Linked DNA regions of Homo sapiens: region 2 is linked to region 1. The links are contacts of gene promoters, found by promoter capture Hi-C in blood cells and fetal thymus (Javierre and others, 2016). All regions are on one chromosome and are shown on one strand. Each heading gives the region's core, a stretch centred on a gene start or on the middle of the fragment in contact. The rest is flanking DNA. Distances are from core to core; before and after follow the strand shown. Region 1 holds the start of HOXB-AS1 (HOXB cluster antisense RNA 1). Region 2 overlaps SKAP1 (src kinase associated phosphoprotein 1).

Evidence for each region. The method cuts DNA at HindIII sites, captures the fragments that hold promoters and counts their contacts. A CHiCAGO score of 5 or more calls a contact.
Region 2: a contact is called between a fragment that was not itself captured here and the fragment with the promoter of HOXB-AS1 in region 1, in 1 of 17 cell types (total B cells). The highest score is 5.2, in total B cells.

What each region holds. Positions count from the first base shown.
Region 1 is chr17:48,541,457-48,547,002 of GRCh38, reverse strand. It overlaps HOXB-AS1 (HOXB cluster antisense RNA 1), which reads right to left and starts at 2,652. Exons shown (of 7, transcript NR_102279.1): 1 at 2,591-2,652; 2 at 1,646-1,882; 3 at 1,439-1,508. It overlaps HOXB2 (homeobox B2), which reads left to right and starts at 1,894. Exons shown (of 2, transcript NM_002145.4): 1 at 1,894-2,482; 2 at 3,256-4,348. The coding sequence starts at 2,092. The coding sequence ends at 3,935. RefSeq lists an enhancer at 3,026-3,671 and a silencer at 3,479-3,768. The HindIII fragment of the contact is 10,206 bases long and covers 1,112-5,546 here.
Region 2 is chr17:48,279,305-48,284,850 of GRCh38, reverse strand. The region is part of intron 4 of SKAP1 (src kinase associated phosphoprotein 1); the gene reads left to right. Among named protein-coding and RNA genes, the nearest start is that of SKAP1-AS2, 12 kb to the left of the region's middle. The HindIII fragment of the contact is 3,099 bases long and covers 1,676-4,774 here.

The DNA.
Region 1 (5,546 bases), core at 1,403-3,902:
AGACAGCTACTATTTGGATTATTCTATGCCCACCCCCATCCACACCTCTAAATGGCAAAAATTGTTTTCTTTGGAGCCTAGTTGCACACTACTGTCGCTGGCCACTTTGCCCAGGTCAGAGCAGCTCTCTCTGTTCTGAGCCCTCCAGAGCATGCCTCCTCGGTCCCTGCAGCCCCCACCTCCAACTCCCCTTTCTCCATCCTCCTCTCCCCCACCCTCATGCTTCTACTCAGACTTCTCTGTCCTTCTTTTTAAGTACTCACGCAGATGTTACACTGACAGAAAGTTTCTAGTTCCAGCTCCGGGCTCAGTTGCCATTTCTCTGCTAACCAGCCTTCTCCTCCTGGCTGGGCAGCAGAGAGAGAGGAGGGGGAGGGGAGGCCAAAGCCATGGGAGTTCTCCAGGCAAACTTTCCACCCAACTTAGCGCTTTCCCTCTGTCCCCATTTCCCATCTGTTTCCCAGCTCTCCCAGAATCACCCTTCTCTTTTGCACCCCCACCCCCACCCCCAGGCCTTTTTAAGGGATGTGAAATTTTGGCTGTTCGCTCTGCTTTCCCAAAGAGCCAAATTCTTTGATGCAATCGGAGGGAGCTGTCAGGGGGCTAAGATTGATCGCCTCATCTCCTCTCCATCCGTCTGACCCACTTATTTAAAAATCTTCCCCCAGATCGACTTTTCATTTTCTGCTTTGAGGCCTAGTTTCCCACCAATTGCTTGGGGCTCAGAGTCTTGTGCCCTCTCCCCATAGTAAATTACAACACTCTAAACTTCAGACTATCTTGGTCTCCTCAAAATAAAATAAATTTTAAAAACATTTTCCCCCAGCAGCCAGAAATGGAATATCATCTCAGTGGTCATTATTTCCACCCCTACCATCTTCAGGGAATTCTTCCTTGTCAGGGATTCTTTTTTTTTTTTTTTTCTTTTTTCTTTTTTAACTAGCACAATGGCAAAAATGGGAGGGAAAGTCTCTTTGTCCTAGGGGAAAATCTCCCCACCACACTCATGCACACACATAACGCTGATCTGAACTTTGAGAGTGCTCTAAGTTAAACCAATGGCTACCTCAGTTCTTGTTCATGTCCCTGGATATGGATACAGATACAAGCTTGAGGCTTGAGTGGGTACATGCACATCTTAGACTCTGCCTGTTTTTGGGGGATGTCACAGAGAAGCATGGAAGCCTGAAAGTGAGGAAAGCAGGGGTACATAAGGGGCAGAGGCAGTGCTGCAAACACTGGGCAGAGAAGAGAACCCAGACCATACAGCGATGGAGGCCAGAGGCCCAAAAATGCCCCTTATGCTCCATCTCACTCCTATGTGTCTGCCTGGGAGTTCCTGTCCATTTCCCAAGATTTAACTGTTGTTTTTGGAGGGTAACAGGGATAGTGGTGTGATGATTGTAAATCTCTTTCTTATTTTCACCTTAATACTGACCTTTTTCAAAGAGTGGAAGCCTCTTTCGACTCCCTCTTCCTCCAACGCGGAGATCCTCACTCATCTTTTCCTGGGGAAGGGGAGAAGGGAAGGGGATGCTGCTGGCCACGTAAAGAAGGCCTTAATTTACTCTATTAAAATACTTGGAAAAGAGGAAGGTTTCTCCCTTAGAGTCTCTTCTTTTCCAGGCTTCTGAAACCTTCTAACCTTCGAAGGGGATGAGGAAAAGGTTCCTCTAGCTTTTCTGGAGAAACGGAGGCATTGGGGAGAGAGCATGTGAGGCACTGGTGTAGGAATGGGGGCTCATGGTGTCCTGGTCGTGGTCCTCTGGTGTTTTTGAATCAATTAAACCAAATAATGCTCTCTGTTTTCCACCAGGCCCAGACGAGCGATTGGCGGAGGCCGGTCCCGTGACCACGAATTCCCTGTAATTTCGCTGGAGTCCTGGGTTTAATAGAGAGAGTCCCCATACGCTTGTATTTATCAGCAATATACAATTATAAAGGCCCAAAATTAAAAAAAAGAGAGACCGAAATCTCCCCCTCCCAAAATCGCTCCATTACATAAATCGGGGGGGGTGCAGGAGGGGGGTCCCTTCCGATCCTCCCTCCTGACGCCCCCCCCAGCAGCCCCCTCCCCCACCATTGAAAGCCATGAATTTTGAATTTGAGAGGGAGATTGGGTTTATAAACAGCCAGCCGTCGCTCGCCGAGTGTCTGACTTCCTTCCCCGCTGTCTTGGAGACATTTCAAACTTCATCAATCAAGGAGTCGACATTAATTCCTCCTCCTCCTCCTTTCGAGCAAACCTTCCCCAGCCTCCAGCCCGGCGCCTCCACCCTTCAGAGACCCAGGAGCCAAAAGCGAGCCGAAGATGGGCCTGCTCTGCCGCCGCCACCGCCGCCGCCACTCCCCGCTGCCCCCCCGGCCCCCGAGTTCCCTTGGATGAAAGAGAAGAAATCCGCCAAGAAACCCAGCCAATCCGCCACGTCTCCTTCTCCGGCCGCCTCCGCCGTTCCGGCCTCCGGGGTCGGATCGCCTGCAGGTCGGTAAGCGTGGTGGGGGTGGGGTGAGGGGCAGCTAGAAGAGGGGGAGAAAAAGCAGTGGAAGGAGGTTTAAAAAAAATGGTGGCGAGCCTGTTGGGGTTCCTTACCCCCTCCATTCCTGGGATGGGGAAGTAGAATATCCCACTGGGGTTCAGGCCTGGCCGCTAACAGCGTCTTTTTTTTTTTCTGTCTCTCTCTCTCTTTCTCTCCCTATGGCTGATTTTGGAAGCTGGTTGGGGAAACGCCTTTTTTTCTGCTAGAAGAAAATGATTTGATTGAGGTTTTCACCCGTATCTGTGTAGGGGAATGAGTATGTTGTTGCTGGGATAGACCCTAGAAGCAGAAAAGATTCGGTCCTTTCTGCCCCAACTCTAGGAGAAGAGGAAGAATTCAGAGCTAGGGAGGAAGAGGGGTGAAGAACAATCTTTCTGACCCTCGCTCCGGTTGAGTTGGAAAGTTCCGAATTGAGGGGTCCACTGGGAGGGCTTGGGAGGGGGATCTGAGGTTCCGGCGCCGAAGGGAGCCGCTCTCCGCCCCCTGCGTGGCCCGTGGGCGGCTCTGAATGCTTTGCCCTGACCCGGGCCGGGGCTGTAGACTAGAGAGGGAGAGAAGAAAACCCAAAAGCAGTAAAGCGAGCGGCTTTGGGGTGGGGGCGGGGGTGGGGTGGCGAGGAAGGGGAGAGGTGATACTGGTTTTGGAGGATGGGGTAGTCCGAACTGAGGTTGGGCTGAGTACACGGCCCGCTATGACGCCGAGCCTGTTTTCCCTGCAGATGGCCTGGGACTGCCGGAGGCTGGTGGCGGCGGGGCGCGCAGGCTGCGCACGGCTTACACCAACACGCAGCTGCTGGAACTGGAGAAGGAATTCCACTTTAATAAGTACCTGTGCCGGCCACGCCGCGTCGAGATCGCGGCCTTGCTGGACCTCACCGAAAGGCAGGTCAAAGTCTGGTTTCAGAACCGGCGCATGAAGCACAAGCGGCAGACGCAGCACCGAGAGCCGCCGGATGGGGAGCCTGCCTGCCCGGGAGCCCTGGAGGACATCTGCGACCCTGCCGAGGAACCCGCGGCCAGCCCGGGCGGCCCCTCCGCCTCGCGGGCGGCGTGGGAAGCCTGCTGTCACCCGCCGGAGGTGGTGCCGGGGGCCTTAAGCGCGGACCCCCGGCCTTTAGCCGTTCGCTTAGAGGGCGCAGGCGCGTCGAGTCCCGGCTGCGCGCTGCGCGGGGCCGGCGGGCTGGAGCCCGGGCCATTGCCAGAAGACGTCTTCTCGGGGCGCCAGGATTCACCTTTCCTTCCCGACCTCAACTTCTTCGCGGCCGACTCCTGTCTCCAGCTATCCGGAGGCCTCTCCCCTAGCCTACAGGGTTCTCTCGACAGCCCGGTCCCTTTTTCCGAGGAAGAGCTGGATTTTTTCACCAGTACGCTCTGTGCCATCGACCTGCAGTTTCCCTAACCTGTTTCCTCCTCCCGGTCCTTTCGACCCCCGCGCTCCTTGGCCGTCTACTGGAAAAATCGAGCCTCTCCCACCCTCAGTCGCATAGACTTATGTGTTTTGCTAAAATTCAGGTATTACTGAATTAGCGTTTAATCCACTCCCTTTCTTCTTCTTCTAAAATATTGGGCACTCGGTTATCTTTTAAAATTCACACAGAAAAATTCCGTTTGGTAGACTCCTTCCAATGAAATCTCAGGAATAATTAAACTCTAGGGGGACTTTCTTAAAAATAACTAGAGGGACCTATTTTCCTCTTTTTTATGTTTTAGACTGTAGATTATTTATTAAAATTCTTTAATAATAGGAAAAGGGGAAAGTATTTATTGTACATTATTTTCATAGATTAAATAAATGTCTTTATAATACCAAAACGAGTGTTTGTGTTGGGACCTAAACTCTTTCCCCGCGGCCCCAAGGCCGGTCCTCACCCCTCCAGGACCTGTGCGAAGTTGATTAGGTTCAGCGGCCCATATGGCAGCAAAGCCTCCAGGGCCGGCGAAGTCCGGGTGGTACAAAGGTGACCCGATTGATGGCCGCTTCGCCCACGGCTCCGGCAAAAGTCGGGAGTTTGCAGGAAGCTGGGTCACCTCCCCGCCCCTCAGCAGAGGGTCTTTGGTCCTGAGCGGGTGGTTCTGGGGCCTCTGCTTGGAAATAGAGATGGGCAGGTCGAGGGAGAGAGTGTACAGCGAACAGAGGAGGGTGAAAGGAGAGGAAGCCTGTGGACAGTCTTCAGGGTCGTGGCGGGGGCAGAAGTTTACTGGAATTGGGAACAATCCAAGGGCTTCCTAGGCTTTTGCTTCTTATGACCGAAGCCGGTGTAGGACCTTTTTCCGAACTCAAGAAGCCTAGGGACGCGAGGCCTGGGGCTTGAGCCGGGCCTCTTTGGGAGCTGTAGGTGGCTCTCCAAGGAGTGGAGTGGGGTCGGGGATTTTCTCGGGAAGCAGGGTCCCGCACCCAGGGATGGTAACTGGCTTCCCAGTGGGCAAGAAAAGAGGCCAGCTGAGAAATGTGGCGCTGCCGGGACACCCATGGACTCGGGCTGCTGGGGTTTGGGAGACCATCCAAGCAGCAGCCGGGCGAGAAGCCCAGGGTGGCCCGGCAGCGTCGCGAGGCGCTGGACCTGCGGGGAGAGAAGGAGGAGCGAGGAGAGCGGGAGGGAGACAGGGAAGCAAAGACGATGCTCAAAATGGCGCTGGGGCCGGGCGGCGGGCCGGGGGGGGGGCGAGGGAAGAAGCTGTGGCCGCCATGACAGCCGCTGCAGGAGGCGCCGGCCCAGCCGGGATCTGCCCCCGCCCCTGCGTCCTCCCAGCTGGATTTTCCAGAGGCCAGGGAAGAAGGGGAGCCTGGGGGGTCCCACCTTCGTTTTAGTTAGTTTGATTTTTTTATTTTTAAAGTGGAGCCCAACGGACGCTGAGGACGCGAGATGGAAGGAGAGTCCGGGTGGATGTGGGAAGGGAAGGAGAGCGGCGGGTCTGCGGGCCTGGGTGTGCCTCATCCAGTCTGACTTTTGATTCTTCGCTGTGGGATTTGAAGCCAGGCCAGAGCTTTCTCTGAATGCAGACCCACCAG
Region 2 (5,546 bases), core at 1,976-4,475, 260 kb after region 1:
AAAATCCAAATGCTTTCAGTCTTACCATGTATGTCTCCACCAATTCTTTAGCAGCCCCTGAAAGGCAGGTCCTCCCAGACTTGGCTAAAGTCTGGTTTCCTTTAAGATTTCCAACCTTCTACAACTGCTAAAATATATGCTAGTTGACATAGATATGTTCTCTAGTTAAGGTGAGAGCAAAATTGTCAAAGATGTATAGATCCCTGCGTTACTTATAAAAAAGGGATATATTGAATATAAGTGTATTTTTTCTCACAACATGCCAACTGTGCTTTTTGGAAGCTGTTTTTGAACATGATGACAGAGTATGTCTGAACATAGAAGTCACCTGTGTACTCATATCCAAATCTCCTTCATAGATCATCACCTTTGAAATTGGCAGAACCCACCATAGGCCCATGTGCCTCTGAGTACATTGAAAAGAATGACATTTTGTAAATTACCTATGCTAAAATGGCAAACAGTTTTTCCTCCATGTTCTAATAACTACTCATGAGTGGTCTGTTTCAGTGTTTCAAACCCACCATAAAGTTTTTATTTGATATAGAATGTCTTAAGAGAAATTGGCCTCCAGAAATTATTTCTTATCTTTATTGGTTCTATTCGTGACCTACTTTTTAAAAACATTATTATAAAGGGTAGCCCCATTAAAATCAGAACAACTACAAATGTTTGCCATAAATGGAGTTGAATTGGCCAGTCAACAAGTTGGCAGCTCTTACTAGGAGAAGGGACTGTGTGGGATTTAGCAGGAAGGAGGGGGAAGCAAGTGGAGAGATAAAGGAAATCTTAGCAATATGAAAGGGAGGGAGCAGCTCCTTTACCTGTGAGCTGAGTTTAGGCTGGGCAAACAATTTCAAAGTTACATCCCAGGCATTCTAAGAGGAGTAGACAGAGAATGGCATTGAAATAAACTGAGTAATCATGGTGTTCCAAGAATGACAGGTGAGAGTCTGGGACATTAATCAGGGAGGGAAGTACAGTCTGATCTCAGAAGAGGAGGCTGGCTAGAGTCCCACTTCTGCCCTGGGGAACTAGCTAGGTACAAGATGCCCAGACAGAAGGGCCAGTTAGGCAGACTGAGAGCACATTGTCCTCCTTATTCCTAAGTTATTTCCCACCCAGAGGGAAACAGAATGGAGCAGCAGCTTGTATCCAGCCGTCGCTCACTTCAGAAGAGGAATCTATCCACCACCACTAAGATCTTCAAGAGTTAGTGAGATCCTGCCCCCTGCCTGCTGCTAGATTATAGTTAGAGTGAAATATAGCCAGTCAGCCAAGTCAACAGACATATGATCTCTGCTGTATGGTTGATTGGACCAAGGCTGATGCATCCATAGATGGCAGAGGTTATTATAAGCACCTAGAGTCAGAGTCTGAAAGGGTTAAATAACTTGCCCCAGGTCACAGACCAAGAGGAAGTTGAACTGTGATTTGAACCCATGCAGTCTGATTCCAGAGTTTATCCTGGCTTTAAGCACTATGCTATGCTGCCTTAATGATATATGCATCTAAATTTTATTATTATTTTATTTTTCTTATTACATCTGAATTTTAGATACAACTTTAAACATGTCTTCCCTTAGGAAACTTTCTCCAGCTCTGTATCATAGTCTACTCTAATCACTTTTCTCTGCATTCTCTCATCAGTTATGCTGGGTGGCAGGGGGAAGCTTGTTTGTCTTGACTCACAGCAGGAGTCTCTTGATATTACCTATATTTTACAAATGCCCAACACGTCTAAGCCACAACTTCATTGGTGTTTCTGTATTCAGGTAATTATTAAATTATATTCTGTCTCTGAAATAAGAGTTTGACTCTCCCAAACATCTTCTTAACTAGAAAATGCACTAGTTTGTGACTATTTTAGAGATCTCAAAGTACTTGCTTTTTTTAGCCAAACTGAGAAAATAATTACATGGAATTACATAATTGCTAAGAGTGGATGGCATTTTGTAGTTATTGTTCCCTCAGATGGGTGGGTTTGCATTTATCAGAGGAGCACAAAAATGTGCAATTTTCCTTACCAAAAAAAAAGGGCAGTTTCTTTTTTTCTTTTCTTTCTTTTTTTTTTGAGACCAGATCTTGCTCTGTCACTGAGGCAGCAGCAGTGCAGCGAGACGACCTTGGCTCACTGCAACCTTGACCTCCTAGGCTCAAGCAATCCTCTCACCTCAGCCTACTAAGTAGCTGAGACTACAGGCGTACACCACAATGCTTGGCTGACTTTTTACTTTTTCGTAGAGCTGAGGTCCCACTATGTTGCCCAGGCTGGTCTTGAACTCTTGGGCTCAAGCAATCCTCCTGCCTTGGCCTCCCAAAGTGCTGAGATTACAGGCATGAGTCACCTTGCCCAGCCAAAAGCAGTTTCTTAGTTTTGATAGTTATACTGTGGTTATGCAATATGTTAGCTTTGAGGGAACAGGGTGAAGGATAGATGAGAACTCTGTACTATTTTTGCAACTTTTCTGAAAACTTAAAATTATTTCAAAGTACAAAGTTAAAAAAAATAAGGCATTAGTTTGGGTAGAGGTGAGGAATGAATGGAGGAAAATAGAGGAAACAGAATTGGCCATGAGTTGATAATTGTTGAAGCTGGATGATAGCTACAGGAGGTTCATTACATTATTTTCTATACATTTGTACATGTTTAAACTTTTTATAATTTCTTAATCTAATAAAATGAAACAGAAAGGCATAAAAGAAAGTATTAAGTGCAGTTCAACTTTGGGTAAACATAAGAATTTTCCAAATGATATTGTTAGCTGAGACAAACTTATATTATTTTGGGATTTCTGTTTTCTTTACCATTCTTATCGGTGCATGAAGAATCAAGTAAATGCTTGTGTGATTTTTTTAACTGTAGAATATGTACTCTTAGTTACACTTAGCTGTTGTTCTTCAGGTTTTCCTTATTGCTGCAGTACTAAAAATATATGCATTAGATAAACTAGGATTTTTAAAAAGTTGTCTTGCCTGTCCATAAACTAGTAAATATTAATATTTATTTTTTGTCTGTTTTTGTTTTATTGTTTTTCTAAACAATATGAGTATGAGGGCATGCCTAATGGCATATATTTTCTCATTGATTTTATAATAAACTTATACTGTTCCAAAGATAATAAATTATACTAGATCAACACTTATGGGTAAGAGAAGTTTTCAGTGCCATGTTAAAACTTAAGCCATGGATCACTAGATGGTGGCCACAGTGTTAATTTCTTATTTTCTAAACCTCTCCTTTTAAAGATACCTAAATTAGATTTTCCTTACAAGTAAATTCCCTTAATTTGTTTGGAAATATAAAGGTTTTTCTTTAAAGCACAATTTGAAAGCACGCTGCCTCTGCCTGCCAGCCTAAATGAGCAGCATTTGATGTGCGATCAGGCAGTCTCCACTTGGAGAGCATCACAGGCACTAGGAGCAGTGAGAAGAACCCCATCAGGGAGTGCCATGACAATGACAAAGAGCTTCATGGTTTCTTATTGGGCACCAGTAGACTGAAGTGCTTTAAAACTTGAGCTCTGGGCCAGGTGCAGTGACTCACGCCTGTAATTCTAGCACTTTGAGAGGCCGAGGTGGGTGGATCACGAGGTCAGGAGATCAAGACCATCCTGGCCAACATGGTGAAAACCCATCTCTACTAAAATACAAAAAATTAGCCGGGCATGGTGGCATGTGCCTGTAATCCCAGCTACTTGGGAGGCTGAGGCAGGGGTATCGCTTGAACTCAGGAGGCAGAGATTGCAGTGAGCCAAGATCACGCCACTGCACTCCAGCCTGGCAACAGAACAAGACTCCATCTCAAAAAATAAAAAATAAATAAAAATAAAAAAGTAAAAAAACCTGAGCTCTGGGTTTAGACTGCCTAAGTCTGAGTACAGGTTCTGCCTTGAGTGTTTATAACAGCTTTATTCACTGAAACTGAAAAGAACCCAAGTATCCATCAACTGGTGAGTAGATAAACAAATTGTGTTTCTATTCAGCAATAAAAAGGGATAAACTACTGATACACACAACTACATGGATGAATCTTAAAGGTTTTATGCTAATTAAAGAAAGCCAGACATAAAATATTAGATACTATATGATTTCATGTATTTGACATCCCTAAAAAGTCAAAGCTATAGACACAAAAATAGATCAATGATTGGCAAGGCCAGTGATAGAAAGAGTGGATTGACTACAAAGGGGCAAAAAGGAGCTTTTCAGAGTGATGGAAATATTCTATATCTTGATTTGGTAGTGGTTATACAACTACTATATATATATGTATATATTTGTCAAAATTCATTAAACTGTACATTTAAAAAGAATTGTGTTTTTTGTGTGTCATTTTTTGTTGTTGTTTTTTGTTTGTTTTTGAGACAGAGTCTCACTCTGTCACCCAGGCTGGAGTGCAGCCTGTCATCCAGGCTGGAGTGCAGATCTCGGCTCACTGCAACCTCTGCCTCCCAGGTTCAAGTGATTCTCCTGCCTCAGCCTCCCAAGTAGCTGGAATTACAGGCGCCCACCACCACAGCCAGCTGATTTTTGTATTTTTAGTAGAGACGGCGTTTCACCATGTTGTACCATGCTGGTCTCAAACTCCTGACCTCAGGTGAATCCTCCCACCTCTGCCTCCCAAAATGCTGAGATTCCAGGCATGAGCCATAGCGCCTGGCCAAGAATTGTATTTTATGTAAATTATATCTCAATAAAGTATTTAAAACCAAACATACAAAATATGTTTTCCAGAACTCTTTTTGATTTGTCTAGTTTCCATAAACAAGCTTATTATTATTGCTTTAGATCATTTTTCTTTCTAGAACCAAGCAATATATGAGTTCTTTCCATGAGAAATAAGTATATTTTCTTCTCTGTCTGCTCTCTTCTGATAAAACTGTATGACAACAGGGCCCCAGGGAATGAAGATAGCAAAGGGACCTTGGGTTAAATGCTGGCCTTAGGAGACAAGCTCTTAGAAGGAACTGTGAGCACAGGAAAGAAGGATTTAGGGAAAATGGAAGCTGGCCCAGGCTACGAAGAGAGAAAGACCCAAGAACAGAGTGTTGGTGGGCCATAGGAATGGAGGAGATGGATGAGATGACCCCGTTGGGGAAAGGGAAGCTAAGAGAGTGGAATGAAATATACTTCTTTAGGTAACACAGCCCTCGAATTAACATGTTTACACATTCATGACACCCAAGTGGCTTCAATTTCTCGGCAGTGGAATTTATCACATAATTAGGCTTTTAGAAAAAAATTCATTTTTTTCCATTAAAAAACCTGACAAATGGTCCACATGTATCATTTGGACACAGGTCACATTACCCAGATAATGAACTCTTTCATGTAAAATTTCCAGTAGATTTTTAACATGCAAAGTCCTCCTCATATGTTATCCTGCATTGATCCGATTGGAGCTGTTAGTGTCTAGTGGATCAATGATCAGCAAACTAAAAAGTCACTTAGTGACTATGACACCCATGGCAGTGTTAGAATCTATTGTGTCAGGAATCCTTGTTTTATTAACTCTGTAATTACCTGTTCAGCTGAACCGGTGA